Linked DNA regions of Homo sapiens: regions 1, 2, 3 and 4 are each linked to region 5. Evidence: promoter capture Hi-C in 16 types of primary human blood cells and fetal thymus (Javierre and others, 2016). All regions are on one chromosome and are shown on one strand. The core of a region is centred on a gene start or on the middle of the fragment in contact, and the rest is flanking DNA. Distances in the headings are between cores, read along the strand shown.

Region 1 (2,700 bases), core at 103-2,602, 180 kb before region 5:
TTTTGTGGGGAACAATCTGGGCAACAGTATTGAACTAAGAAAGGTTTTCAACCCTGGGCAGGTCACCACACTTCTTGGTACTCAGCCCCCACCCAGTGATGCTGTTTGAGGCTGTGCACCTGCTGGGGACCGTGTGTGGTGGGAGGGGCTCCAGAGAGTGCTAGAGTTAATGCTTTTCTGTTTAGAAGACTATATGCTTCTCATGGCCTCTTGGAGTTCAGCAGGGCCTTAGAAAGCATCTCCCAACCACAGAGACGCGCTGCCTGGCTTTCCTGATGATGATGATTTGGCCTGATCTTGGACACCTGCGGTAATAGAGAGCTCACTACCCCTCACGAGGTTCCTTGCGCCAGCGCGGGGAAGCCTCCCTCCATCTGCAGGTGGGCCTCCCCTGTGCTGGTCAGCTCCCTGGTGTGTGTTACACAGGACACAGAGAAGATCATCCTGCGGGGCCTCCCTGGAGGAAAGGAGGCTGCCTGTGTGGGTAGGTGAGTGGAGGCCTGCAGGCAGCAGAAAGACCACATCGAAAGCCCATGGGCACAGCCGATGAACAGACCCCCACGAGCAAGAACACCACAAGACGCAGGTGGAGGGACGGGGCCCATGGGGTCTGGATCTGATGCTAGGTGAACAAGGAGGCGCTGCAGGGTTTTAAGCAGGAGAGCCACAAAGGTTGAACTCTGGGGTGCAGCTGGGGTGGGGATGACATCAGTGATGGCAGCAAAGGAACGGATCCGAGACCTTTGTTGCAGAAGGAGCCGTCAGCCTCGCCTATGCCCAGAGATGGGATGCGGAGCGGAGGGTAAGCCCGGGACTCTGGCGGGAGCCACTGAGGGGATGAAGGTGTCACTGCTCCGGTGGGGAATGGAGGGGGGAGATGTGAGACATTTACTGGGAAAAATCGAAAGAGTACCACTTAGGTTATGCAAAATGCTCCATCCCAATGTGAAGACAAGATCCGACTCCGAGCAGCTCGCCTTCCCTCCTCGGCCTGGGGAGCGCTTCTGGAGCCCGGAGAAGAGGCCCCTCCAGGAGGCGGCGGCCGAAGGCCAGGGAGAGTGCGGGGCGGCCGAGGGCCCCAAGCGAGGCGGGACTGGCCCCGAGAGGCGCAGCCCTGCCCACCCGCCCGCGCCCGCGCTCGCGCCCGCTCACCTCCAGCGCCTGGCCCAGCTCCAGGTCGAAGGTGACCACGCACACACACTCCAGCCAGGCGGAGAAGCGCGCCCAGGGCGCCGCCGGGGTCCGCGCCGCGCGACCTGAAGACGTGGGTCCAGCCGCGCCCAGGCAGCCGCGAGCCCGGCGAGGCCCTGTGCCCAACAGCGCGTCCATGGCGGCGGCCGCGGGTTGCCGGGGAAACGCGGGCGGGGGCGGCGCGCGTCCGGGCCGCTCCTCAGAACAGTCGAGCGGCCGCCGCGGCCCAGTGCGGCTCCCGCGCGGCCGCGCGCCCCCTAGCGCCCGAGAAGCGCCAGCGGCCGGGCGCCGCCCAGGGCACCAGCGAGCCGGACGCGCGCGGGCCAGAGCGGCCGGAGCCCACTGGGGGACTTCCGGGGAAGCGGCCGAACTGGGGCCTTCCAGGGTCCACGCCGTCTGAGGCCCGAGAGAGTCGGTTCGGCCCCGGTGTTCGCGGATCCCGGCTCGCGGGAGCCTCGGGGCCAGGCCAGGGAGGCAGAGCAAGCTGCAGCCAGCCGGCGCCGGGCTCGTCGGGCTTCGCAGGTCCGGCCAGCCTACCTCGCCCCACCGCGCAGGGGCCAGCGGCGTCGCGGGCGTTTTCGTGGCGGAATGGCGTCCTCACTGAGCGCCCAGCCACCACCGCGGACTCGCGCTCGCTTCCTCTGGGGCCCGCGCGGCCTGGGGTCGTGTCTGACCGCGGGTGTCCACGCAACACCTCTGCAGTTTCACTTTCCGGGGGAATCGCGGGGACCTGGAGCGAACTCTTCCCTCCCTCGCGAGGGCCCCGGGCCCCGCTGTGGTCCACAGAGCACCTTGAGGCCCGGCGTGGAAGGGCGAGTTTGGGGCTGTCGGTAACTTAATGAGGCACGCCTTTGAGTCGTGGGCCTCATGACGTTTCCGTGGAAGGCGGGCCGCATATACTGTGGTGGTCCCTTCAGATTACCACGTGTTGGCCAGACGCGGTGGCTCACGCCTGTAATCTCACCGCTTTGGGAGGCCGAGGTGGGGTGGCGGATCACGAATCCAGGAAATCGAGACCAACCTGGTGAAACCCTGTCTCTACTGAAAATACAAAAATTAGCCGGGCGTGGTGGCTGGCGAGCGCCGTAACCCCAGCTATTGGGGAGGCTGAGGCAGGAGAATCGTTTGAACCCCGGAGGCGAAGCTTGCAGTGAGCTGAGATGTCGCCATTGCACTCCAGCCTGGGCGACAGAGTGAGACTCCATCTCAAAAATAAAAAAATAAAAGATTACCACGTGTTGTTCGGATCATCTGGCCTAGGTGTGGGGTAGGCTGTCCCATCTAGGTTTGTCACATAACAAAATCGCCTAATGACACATTTCTCAGGACATAGCTTCACCGTTGAGTAGCACATGGCCGTATTGTTTTTTGTTTGTTTGTTTCTGTTGTTTTTTTTGAGACAGAATGTTGCTCTTGTTGCCCAGGCAGGAGTGCAATGGCATGGTCTTGGCTCACTGCAACCTCTGCCTACTGGGTTCGAGCGATTCTCCTGCCTCAGCCTCCCGAGTA
Region 2 (2,700 bases), core at 152-2,651, 190 kb after region 5:
ATAATGTCCTTCTCTGTCTCTTGTTACAGTTTTTATCTTAAAGTTTATTTTGTATGATGTTAATATAACCACCCAGCTCTCTTTTGGTTACTATTTACATTAGATTGCTTTTTTTATCCTTTCACTTTGAACCTATTTGTGTCTTTGGATTTAAAGTGATTATTTTGTAAGTAGCATATAGTTGGATAATACTTTTTAATCACTATCTGCTTTTTAAGTAAAATTCTATTGGAACACAAACACACCTATCTGCTTGTATGTTGTTTGTGGTGGTTTTCATGCTGCGGTGGCAGAGTTGAGTCATTGCAACACAGACTATATAGCTTGCAAAGCCTTAAGTAGTTACTGTCCAATTCTTTCCAGAAAAGGTTTGCTGATCCCTGGTCTAGAATGTCTTTTATAGTTTCCCTGGTTATAGTTAACTGCAAATGGTCCTGTTCAGCAGTAGTCTGGTGAGATTCGTCACATGTAGCCTGTTTTGTCTCTCCTGAAGCTTGTGAAATGCAGTTCTTAGAGCATATCTGAGCACCCTCAAGGCCCCTTTCGGCTGAGAGGAGAAGCAGGCTTCTACCTCTGAAGCTAGGGTGAGAGGCAGTTTGACTGGGATGTGGCCCCTTAATGGTAGCTTCATTTGTAGGGTGGCCAACTCTTTTGGTTTGCCTGGAACCAAGGCAGTTCCTGGAACATAGGATTTAGTTTTAACATCTGGAAAGCCTGGGCAAACTGGACAAGTTGGTCACCCAGCTGGCTGTTCAGAGTCTTACCTATGCCCCCTTACCCCAGTACCATTCAGGGAAACCCCCAGCTATGCGAAGCGGCGGCGACTGGCTGGCCCCAGTGGCTTGGCATCCCCTCGGCCTCTGCAGCGCTCAGCCAGCGATATCAACCTGAAGGGGGAGGCACAGCCAGCAGCTTCTCCTGGACCCTCGCTGAGAAGCCTCCCCCACCAGCTGCTGCTCCAGCGGCTGCAAGAGGAGAAAGATCGTGACCGGGATGCCGACCAGGAGAGCAACATCAGTGGCCCTTTAGCAGGCAGGGCCGGCCAAAGCAAGATCAGGTAGGAGGGGGCTGGCAGGCCCTGGAGGGGTTGGGAGGGTGGGGTGCCGGGACCTGAGCCAGGAGGAGCCAGCACCGGGAGGCAGAGAGAGGCCTGGTGGTGCCTAGCACCTGTGTAGTGATGGGCTAGGGCTTCCTGGTTGGGGAAGGGAAGAAGGCATCTCTGGAGGTGGGGACAGGCACATGCACGCTGATTTCCGGTTGGAGCTGGGCTTGCCATGAGGACAGTGGGCAGTTGAGGGAGCGTGTTAGGTGGAGAGGGTATGCTCCTACCTGTGATTTAGAAAACACACTGCATTGTCAGGCATGGCTGGGAAGAGTCAGGGCTGGTGGCCTGTGGTAAGGGGGACAGGGATGGAGTTGCCACTCCAGTAGGGCCCAAAACCTACAGGTAAGCCCCAGCCCTGTCCCCAGGGTATACTCATGGTTTCCCCCAGCCCTGGCACACCTACAGGACTCTGTGGCTTCTATTCTTTACCCTCACCCTGAGGCCTGGGTCCCTGAGGCAGGGATGCCTGGACCGGAGCCCACTGGCCTCTCTGGGCTGTGCATTGGGTGCTGAGGTGGGCGCACTGGCTCTCAGCCACTTTGTGCCTGGGCTTCTCATCAGTAAGTGGGAATAGTCCTACCTAAGTCATTGTCTTTGGGAAGCCTTCCAGAATGCCCTGGGCAGGTGAGGGATCACCTGGCAGAGTCTGGCAACTGCCGGTAAAAGCACCTGCCCTCCCTGTGCCTTGAAGGCAGGCACCGTCTTTGTCGTTTCCTAGTTTCATCAGAGCCAGGCACTGAGGAGGGTGTTTGGCAGACATTGTTGAGTGGAAGAGTTACATAAACAGTATGTTGTTGTCAGGATGGCCGCCGGCCTTTACAGTTCTGTCAGTCCAGGCCCGCTGTTGGGCTGAATGGCATGTGTATACTAGCTCCTTTAACCTTGACGAACGTACATGTTCATGCTCTATTAATACCATGTTACAGATGAGCGTCCTGGTACGCAGGTGGGGCCTGTGACGGGTCCAGAGTCACAGAGCTACGGATCAGCTTCACTGGGCCCCAGGTAGACCCAATCCCCAACTTTCTAAGCCTGAGTGTTCAGCAGAGGGCTCAGGGTGCAGCAGGGCCTATGGAAGGCGCCCCTTCCTGTGCTGCCGCCCCTGCTCTGCAGCCTGGTCTCAGCGATGTCTCCGTGTCTGTCTTTGCCTGGGCTTGTTGGACTCGCAAGGCTGGCTGTACTGCCCCAAATCTCAATTCTCCCCTGAAGCTTTCTTATAGACCCGCGGATTTTCTAAGGGCTGGGCGGCCCAGTGGCTGAAAGAACACATTCTGCATTCCGGATGTTTCCATCCCGCAGAAAGGCTGCTCCTGAGTTGGAGGCACGCGTTGCCACAGGCTCCTCCCTGCATTCATTTTTTGTACGTGTTCATTCATCCTTTCAGCAGACACAAAACTAAGACCTGCTGTGTGAGGGGCTCCAGCTCACCTGCTCTGTGGGGATGGCAGAATTCTGTTTTTTCCTTCCTCGCAAACATTTATTGGGTGCCTGGTGCGTCAGAGGTGGTGGGTCTCAGGAAGTTGACAGCCGAGGGCCCGGGCTAAGCAGCAGTTAGGTGGGCAGTGATCCCCTTATGGGGCTGCCCTGGTGAGTGG
Region 3 (2,700 bases), core at 42-2,541, 160 kb before region 5:
TGCACTGGCTGAGCACAGGAGGGGTATCAAGATCAGGCAGAGTTGCACGTGCTCACGGCAGCAGGAGCATCTCCTGCATCTGGTGCCCCTGGCCCCAGTCCCCATTCCGTAGCTCAACTCAGCAGCACCTCCCGCTCCTGCAAAGGAGACCATGGTGAGGGCAGGAGAAGGGCATAGCCTGCTGAACGCAGGGTGTCTCTTCTCTAGGTTGTGAGGCTGAGGCTTTTTCACCCCCACTTCCTGGAAGTTCCCTCAACGGAACCTGCCAGAAATCTGCCCCTTAGGATGCTAGGGGAAAAGCTTTTGCTGGGGAAAGGCTCGCCAGAGGCATCTGCTATAAAACCGGCGAGGAGGGTGCTGCTGACCAGGGCAGGGGACAGGCGTCGGGGAAGCCCGGGGCCGCCAGCCGCAGGGCCAAGCCCTTTTCTCCTGCAACGTCTCTGGCGCCCTCTACCGACAAAGCCTAACAGCGCCAGCTGGCAAAAGAGAAATACCGAATATTTGAGCCGCCCAGATACGCTTTCGCAGAGAGCATCGGTGAATCCTGGGCAATACACTGACAACTGGAAAAAACGTTTAGAGATCCCTTAAGTGCTCCATGTTTTCCCAACATTTACCCACGGCTCGCTCTAACATCTGAAATAATAGTAATCATTTTTGAAATTATTTTGATGGAATTAAACAATTCCAGCACTTGTTAAATAGGCACATACTTAATTTGCAAAACGCCGTGCAAGAACCCGTAGCGCACCTGGAGAAAACTGTCTGGAGGCGGCTCAGGCACTCCGGGTCCAGGCAGGACGCGGGACGGGGAGGGGCCAGGCCTGGCGCCCGGGGCTGAGCCCGCTCCTGCTGCTCGGGGCGTCCACGCCCCGCGGCCTCTGGGAGGGGCCTGTGGCAGGAGGGAGGCCCGGGAGAACAGGCCCTTTCCTGGGCCACGGGGGAAACCCCTGCCCCAGGTGTGTGTCTCTCAAATGCTGCGTCGGGCCACGCGAGGATTGTTTTGTGGCTACAACAAAATTAACTATGCTTGCACAAAACTTTAGCCAATACCTCAAAGGGAAACGTAAAAGGGGAAAGACGCACTCTTACCCCACCCACTCCAAGGCAGCAGTCAGCACACCCAAGCCCTCGTGCTCCCACGCGGGTTTCACCGAGTGCCCCACTCCAGGGGGCCCGGAGAGCCGGCCCAGGTCCCGGCCCCGCCCACCCGCGCGGCCCCGCCCCCGGCCGCGAGCGTGCGCGCCCCAAGCGGAGACCCCGCCCCCGGAGCGCGTGCCCGTGCGCCGCCGCCGCCATTTTGGAGCGATCGGAGTGCCGCCCGCGGCCCCGAGTCGGTCTCGAGCCGCCGGCCGGCCGTGCCGGTGTCCGTAGGCGCTGCGCCCTCGGCCGGGCCCATGTGTGTGCGGCCCGCCCGAGGCCGCCCGGGCTTTGCCTCCACCAGCGCCCTGGCCTCCGCTCGGGCCTCCACACGGGCCTCCGAAGAGCTGCCGCGACGCCCGGCCCGCAGGGCAGGTGAGTGCGGCCGCCCGCCGCTCAGACCCGGCCCCCAGTCTGCCAGTGCCCCCCAAGTCACTTCTCCCCGAGTCAGTCAGTGCCCCCTCCAGATAGTTATCCCCCAGTCAGTCAGTTCCCCCTCCAGTCAGTTCCCCCCAGTCGGTGCCCCCGGAGTCAGTGCCCCCCCCAAGTCAGTCAGTGCCCCCTCCAGTCAGTTCCCCCCCAGTTAGTGCACCCTCTAGTCAGTTCCCCCAGTCAGTGCCCCCTCCAGTCAGTTCCCCCCCAGTCAGTTCCCCCCCAGTCAGTTTCCCCCCAGTCAGTTTCCCCCCAGTCAGTGCCCCCCAGTCAGTGCCCCCTCCAGTCAGTTCCCCCCCAGTCAGTGCCCCCTCCAGTCAGTTTCCCCCCAGTCAGTGCCCCCTCCAGTCAGTTCCCCCCCAGTCAGTGCCTCCTCCAGTCAGTTTCCCCCAGTCAGTGCCTCCTCCAGTCAGTTTCCCCCAGTCAGTGCCCCCTCCAGTCAGTTCCCCCCCCAGTCAGTGCCCCCTCTAGTCAGTTCCCCCCCAGTCAGTGCCCCCTCTAGTCAGTTCCCCCCCAGTCAGTGCCCCCTCTAGTCAGTTTCCCCCCAGTCAGTGCCTCCTCCAGTCAGTTTCCCCCAGTCAGTGCCTCCTCCAGTCAGTTTCCCCCAGTCAGTGCCTCCTCCAGTCAGTTTCCCCCAGTCAGTGCCCCCTCCAGTCAGTTCCCCCCAGTCAGTGCCCCCCCAGTCAGTTTCCCCCCAGTCAGTGCCCCCCAGTCAGTGCCCCCCAGTCAGTGCCCCCTCCAGTCAATTCCCCCCAGTCAGTGCCCCCTCCAGTCAGTTCCCCCCCCAGTCAGTGCCCCCTTCAGTCAGTTCCCCCAGTCAGTGCCCCCTCCAGTCAGTTCCCCCCCAGTCAGTGCCCCCCCAGTCAGTTTCCCCCCAGTCAGTGCCCCCCAGTCAGTGCCCCCTCCAGTCAATTCCCCCCAGTCAGTGCCCCCTCCAGTCAATTCCCCCCAGTCAGTGCCTCCTCCAGTCAGTTTCCCCCAGTCAGTGCCCCCTCCAGTCAGTTCCCCCCAGTCAGTGCCCCCCCAGTCAGTTTCCCCCCAGTCAGTGCCCCCCAGTCAGTGCCCCCTCCAGTCAATTCCCCCTAGTCAGTGCCCCCTCCAGTCAGTTCCCCCCCAGTCAGTGCCTCC
Region 4 (2,700 bases), core at 156-2,655, 140 kb before region 5:
AACTTTTTTTTTTTTTTTTTGAGACGGAGTTTTTGCTCTTGTCGCCCAGGCTGGAGTACAGTGGCGCAATCTCGGCCCACTGCAACCTTTGCCTCCCGGGTTCAGGCGATTCTCCTGCCTAAGCCTCCCGAGTAGCTGGGATTACAGGCATGCACCACCACGTCTGGCTAGTTTTTTTGTATTTTTAGTAGAGACGGGGTTGCACCATGTTAACCAGGCTGGTCTCAAACTCCTGACCTCAGGTGATCTGCCCACCTCGGCCTCCCAAAGTGCTGGGATTACAGGCTTGAGTCACCGTGCCTGGCCCAGGTTTTCAGACTTATTGTGAGGCCAGTGGAATGGATAGCCTGGAAAAGGACCCTGTATAAATGGGAACTTGGTATATGAGAGAAGTGTCATACTTGAAATATGTATTTAAAGCAATGTACCATTTTTAGGTATATAAGTCATAAAATAATGAAATTACGGATACTGCAAGTTAGTGATTGTCTCTCAAGAAGGGGATTGCTTGAGTTCCTGGGTTCCTCAGTGTCGTAGAAACATTTGTTTAAGAAGGAGGCACATACAAACAAATGTTAGTGTTTGTTAAGTCTCATCACATGGATATTATGTCCTTCTCTAGACTTCAATATATTTAAAAAATTTCATAATTAAAAATAAAAATATTTAAAACTGAGTTATAATTCTCTGAAAGATATAAACAGTCTTGTGAGAGCACTGAGGAGGGACTCAGAAAGTTGACAAAGGTAGCTATAGATGGTCTTCAGATAGGAAGATCAGGCAAGAGTTTGTCAAATAGAGAAAGTGGGAAGAAGGCATTCCAGTCAGAGGGTCTGTGTGTGCAAAGGTGTTAGCTGGGGGAGACACTCAGCATATTTAGATAGTTTTGGTACGGTTATGGAATCAGGTGGGGATGAGGAAAGAGTGCCAAAGTTGTATTGTGTGCGGGTCCCACTTAATGTGTCATCGTGTAGAGGCTTACAGCAGAAGTACGGTGTATTCTTTATTCCCTGTTTGTCTTTTTCTACCTTATTTTGGATTAAGAATGTTTTTATGTGTGATGGTATTAGAAGGTGGGCATAAAAAGAAAAAAAATCTTTTATGATTCTCTTTGGGTCTTTGTATATCTTCCATGTCTTTACTTAATCTTTCCTTTAGGTTCTTGAACATATGAGATACTTTTTTTTTTTTTTTTTTTGAGACGGAGTTTTGCTCTTGTTGCCCAGGCTGGATTGTAATGGCGCAATCTCGGCTCACCGCAACCTCCACCTCCCGGGTTCAAGCAATTCTCCTGCCTCAGCGTCCCAAGTAGCTGGGATTACAGGCATGCACCACCACACCTGGCTAATTTTATATTTTTAGTAGAGACGGGGTTTCTTCATGTTGGCCAGGCTGGTCTTGAACTCCCGACCTCAGGCGATGCATCTGCCTCGGCCTCCCAAAGTGCTGGGATTACAGGTATGAGCCGCCGTGCCTGGCATGAGATACACTTATAAGAACTATTTAGGCTGGGCATAGTGGCTCACGCCTGTAATCCCAGCACTTTCGGAGGCCGAGGTGGGTGGATCATGAGGTCAGGAGATCGAGACCATCCTGGCTAACACGGTGAAACCTCGTCTCTACTAAAAAATACAAAAAATTAGCCCGGCGTGGTGGCGGGCGCCTGTAGTCCCAGCTACTCGGGAGGCTGAGGCAGGAGAATGGCATGAACCCGGGAGGCGGAGCTTGCAGTGAGCTGAGATCACACCACTGCATTCCAGCCTGTGCGACAGAGCAAGACTCTGTCTCAAAAAAAAAAAAAAAAGAACCATTTAAATGTCCTTATCAATTCTTTATTTATTATTATTTTTTTAGAGACAGTGTTCTGTTTGCTCTGTCACTCAGGCTGGATTGCAGTGGTGCAATCCTGGCTCACTGCAACCTCAAACTCCAGGCCTCAAGTGATTCTCCCACCTTGCTCCTGAGTAGCTGGGATTATAGACATGAGCCCCTGTACCAGCATTATCTGTTAACTCATCTGTGTCATTTCTGGGTTGGTTTTGTGTTGTTTTTCCCCTCATTATGGTTTATGATTTTTCTTTTCCTGCTCCCTTGCATGCCTAGAACTTTTTGATCAGATGCCCAGACTTTGTGAATTTTATCTTGTTGGATACTGAGCATTTTTGTGTTCCTATAAATATTCTTGACCTTTGTTCTGGGATGAGGTTCAATTACTTGGAAACAGTTTGATTCTGATAGGTCTTGCATTTCAGCTTTGTTAGGTGGAACCCTAGTAATTTTTAGTCTAGGGCTAGTTTTGCTCTGCCACTGAGGCAAACGTCTTCTGAGCATTACGTCCAAAGCCTTGTGAATTACAAGGTTTTCCACTGCAACTGGCAGGAATAGGCTCTGCGTGAGCTTTGAGGATTGTTCCCTCTCATCTTTTTTTTTTTTTTTTTTAAATGGAGTCTCGCTCTGTCACCTAGGCTGGAGTGCAGTGGTGCAATCCCAGCTCACTGCAGCCTCCGGGTTCAAGCAGTTCTCCTTCCTCAGCCTCCCCAGTAGCTGGGATTACAGGTGCCCGCCACCATGCCCAGCTAATTTTTGTATTTTTAGTAGAGATGGAGTTTCACCGTGTTGGCCAGGCTGGTCTCGAACTCCTGACCTCAGGTGATCCACCGGCCTCGGCCTCCCAAAGTGCTGGGATTACAGGTGTGAGCC
Region 5 (2,700 bases), core at 193-2,692:
CCCAGGTCCAGACCGGGCCCCTCACCAGTGAGCCCCCACCACGCAGGGCAGCGGCTGGTCAGCTTGACCACGCCTGAGGCGAACATGAGGCGGAACAGCAGCCATCGCACCAGCCAGAAGGGGAGGTCTTCGTGGGGCAGGGCCCCTGCCTGCCTGCCCTGGGGGGCCTCCTTGCGGTGGGAGGCTGGCCTCAGCGGGGCCACCAGCACGGCCAGGAAGCCAGTCTCTAGCAGCAGGGAGTCCCTATGGGGAGAGCAAATAGCACCAAGAGCCCCTCCCCACACAGCTGCTTCCCTCGGAAAGTCCTCCCAGGAAGGGCAGAGCCCTCCCCCACCCCCTACCCAGCCTCCCACAGCCCCAGGCCCAGCCGTCACTCACCACTGGAAATAAAGGAACACCTGGCCCACCTGCGGAGAGAGGGGCTGTCAGGGAGCGGGTGTGTCTGTGGACTCAGGTAAGGTAGAGGCAGGGGTGGGTGGTGGGGGTTGGAGATAGAGTGAGCTGGTCACAGGTCCCACTTGCCTGGCAGGCTGACAGGTAGGCGGCCCAAAGCAGCAAGTAGATGACAGGGTGGCGCAGTGGGCTCAGCAGCAGGGCTCCCAGGGCCACTAGTGCACCCAGCAGGCTCAGCAGCTCCAGGCCCTGGGCCGTGTCCAGCCCCAGTCTCGGCGCTTCCCACAGCAGCGTCGGGGTCTCCCACAGCTGCTGCCAGCGCCCCTTGCCCTGAGGCCGCAGCGTCCTCCTTGCAGGTAGGATGCCCTCGGGGCCATACAGGCCTGTGGGAGGGCATGTCATGGCCAGGCCCTGGACAGCCCTTGCAGACTAGACTACCTCTGAGTCAGGGCCTGCAGATCCCCCAGCCTAGGTCAGAGCATGCGGATACCTCCATCCCTAGGTCAGAGTCTGCAGTCCCTCCAGAGCCCGTCCCCCAGGTCGGGACCTGTCAAAACCCCGTCCCAGGGCTAGAGGCCTGCTCAACTACCTGAGTCAGGGCCTCCCACCCAGCAGAGCCCACTGCCCTCTTCCAGGTCTCAGCCCGATCTCCTACCTGTCCCACCAGGTCTGGGAGGAAGCCTCTCTCCCACCTCTCTCAGAGTTCTGTCCCCCACCCCAGGTCAGAGTCCAGAGCCTTACGGGAAATGGATCACCGCACACCTTCCTACCCCCACAGCGGCCTGCAGGACACGAACCGCCGCCCCCTACCCCACGCCAAGGCCTGGCCCTCACTCCCAACCCCGGACTGCGTGAGTGCCGGGCACAGAGAAAAGAGGACATAGGGTCCCGCGCCGAGGCTGGGGGTGTCCCACCCTGGGTGCCTTCACCTGGGATTTGCGTGTAGAGGGAAGCGAAAGCAAACATGAAGACGGCCGCCACGCCCTGGAGGAAGAGCTGCCGCGGGAGCCGGGAGCCCGCCATGTCCGCTACGCGGCCCGCTAGAGCAGGGCCCGCCCTCCGCGTCCGCCCGCCCGCGGCAGCCCCAGGCCCCGCCTCCTCACCGCCCCGCCCGCCCAATCCGTGGCAGCCCCAAGCCCCGCCTCCTCGGCCCGCCCGCCCGCCCGCGGCAGTCCCAGGCCCCGCCTCCTCACCGCCCCGCCCGCCCAACCCGTGGCAGCCCCAAGCCCCGCCTCCTCGGCCCGTCCGCCCGCCCGCGGCTGCCCCAGGCCCCGCCTCCTCACCGCCCCGCCCCCCCAACCCGTGGCAGCCCCCAAGCCCCGCCTCCTCGGCCCGCTCGCCCGCGGCAGCTCCAGGCCCCGCCCCACCCCGCCCCGCCCGACCCACGGCGGCCCCAAAAGCCCTCCCGTCCAAACTGGTGGCAGCCCAAAGCTCCGCCCACCCCCCCCTCCCGGAGGCTTCGACCCCGCCCCGCGACTCTTCCGGTGAGCTCCCGCTGCGCGGCGCCGGGGTTCGCCTCTCTGGCTTTTGCCCACGTTACGTCATAGACATGCGCGCGACGCCGCGCCTACGCATTTTCCTGGGCGGGAACAGCAAAATGGCGCCAGAACTAGTGGCGGGCTGAGGACGCCGTACCCCTCGGAAGGCAGCCCTGCGGTCCCTTTGCCGCCCGTTCCCTCCCGGACATGGAGGACGTGGAGGCGCGCTTCGCCCACCTCTTGCAGCCCATCCGCGACCTCACCAAGAACTGGGAGGTGGACGTGGCGGCCCAGCTGGGCGAGTATCTGGAGGAGGTAAGGGCGGCGGGGGAGTGACGCGGGGTGGGCCGGCGGGTGGGGCTGCGGGGCGGGGGCTCCGGGCCCGGGGCTGTGGGCGCCCCACCGTCTCCACGCCTATGGCTATCTGGCGCTCTGGCCGCGCAGGTCCTCGGGCTCCCTGCTTCTTTTCAAACTCCATCTCTGCCTCCCCAAATCATCCCTTGTTGGATTAGCGTGGACCTGTCATTGCAGGTTTCTACCCGTCAGCGAGCCGTGAATGATTGAGTGGGTGGTGACCAGCCGTTTCTCTAACGTAGTGGAATAGACTAGAAAGCATTATTGCTTTTATTGCAGTTATTGCGAGCATGCTTGTGTGTTTGAGAGGTCTGGATCACGATGTCAGAGGAATTTTTTATCTTGGATTTTCAAACCAATTTCAAGCTATTGCCATGCTCTATCCTGTTAGCGATTAGTGTTTCTTCCATGTTTGACAGCCCTGTCTAGACCTGTGTTAAGCTGTCTGCTCCATATTTGCGCTTCATTTTTACTC

The links. The method cuts DNA at HindIII sites, captures the fragments that hold promoters and counts their contacts. A CHiCAGO score of 5 or more calls a contact.
Region 1: a contact is called between the fragment with the promoter of DENND6B here and the fragment with the promoter of LMF2 in region 5, in 4 of 17 cell types (monocytes, M0 macrophages, M1 macrophages and 1 more). The highest score is 7.6, in monocytes.
Region 2: a fragment that was not itself captured here is called in contact with the fragment with the promoter of LMF2 in region 5 in 2 of 17 cell types (M0 macrophages and M1 macrophages); the score reaches 7.7 in M0 macrophages.
Region 3: the fragment with the promoter of PPP6R2 here is called in contact with the fragment with the promoter of LMF2 in region 5 in 12 of 17 cell types (naive CD8 T cells, total CD8 T cells, fetal thymus and 9 more); the score reaches 8.1 in naive CD8 T cells.
Region 4: a contact is called between a fragment that was not itself captured here and the fragment with the promoter of LMF2 in region 5, in 4 of 17 cell types (M1 macrophages, M0 macrophages, naive CD8 T cells and 1 more). The highest score is 6.2, in M1 macrophages.

Annotation. Positions count from the first base shown.
Region 1 is chr22:50,325,660-50,328,359 of GRCh38, forward strand. It overlaps DENND6B (DENN domain containing 6B), which reads right to left and starts at 1,353. Exons shown (of 20, transcript NM_001001794.4): 1 at 1,153-1,353. The coding sequence starts at 1,329. RefSeq lists a silencer at 1,102-1,741. The HindIII fragment of the contact is 18,876 bases long and covers 1-2,333 here.
Region 2 is chr22:50,693,992-50,696,691 of GRCh38, forward strand. SHANK3 (SH3 and multiple ankyrin repeat domains 3) reads left to right here. Exons shown (of 25, transcript NM_001372044.2): 12 at 784-1,055. Among named protein-coding and RNA genes, the nearest start is that of SHANK3, 23 kb to the left of the region's middle. RefSeq lists an enhancer at 1,062-1,562. The HindIII fragment of the contact is 1,821 bases long and covers 492-2,312 here.
Region 3 is chr22:50,342,036-50,344,735 of GRCh38, forward strand. It overlaps PPP6R2 (protein phosphatase 6 regulatory subunit 2), which reads left to right and starts at 1,292. Exons shown (of 24, transcript NM_001242898.2): 1 at 1,292-1,515. RefSeq lists an enhancer at 1-646 and silencers at 743-912, 1,183-1,462, 1,473-1,552. The HindIII fragment of the contact is 9,108 bases long and covers 299-2,700 here.
Region 4 is chr22:50,363,891-50,366,590 of GRCh38, forward strand. The region is part of intron 1 of PPP6R2 (protein phosphatase 6 regulatory subunit 2); the gene reads left to right. Among named protein-coding and RNA genes, the nearest start is that of PPP6R2, 22 kb to the left of the region's middle. The HindIII fragment of the contact is 3,569 bases long and covers 1-2,700 here.
Region 5 is chr22:50,506,260-50,508,959 of GRCh38, forward strand. It overlaps LMF2 (lipase maturation factor 2), which reads right to left and starts at 1,443. Exons shown (of 14, transcript NM_033200.3): 1 at 1,323-1,443; 2 at 523-776; 3 at 379-407; 4 at 26-243. The coding sequence starts at 1,416. NCAPH2 (non-SMC condensin II complex subunit H2) reads left to right here and starts at 1,965. Exons shown (of 20, transcript NM_152299.4): 1 at 1,965-2,186. The coding sequence starts at 2,079. RefSeq lists an enhancer at 1,174-1,223 and silencers at 1,444-1,543, 2,214-2,503. The HindIII fragment of the contact is 8,515 bases long and covers 1-2,700 here.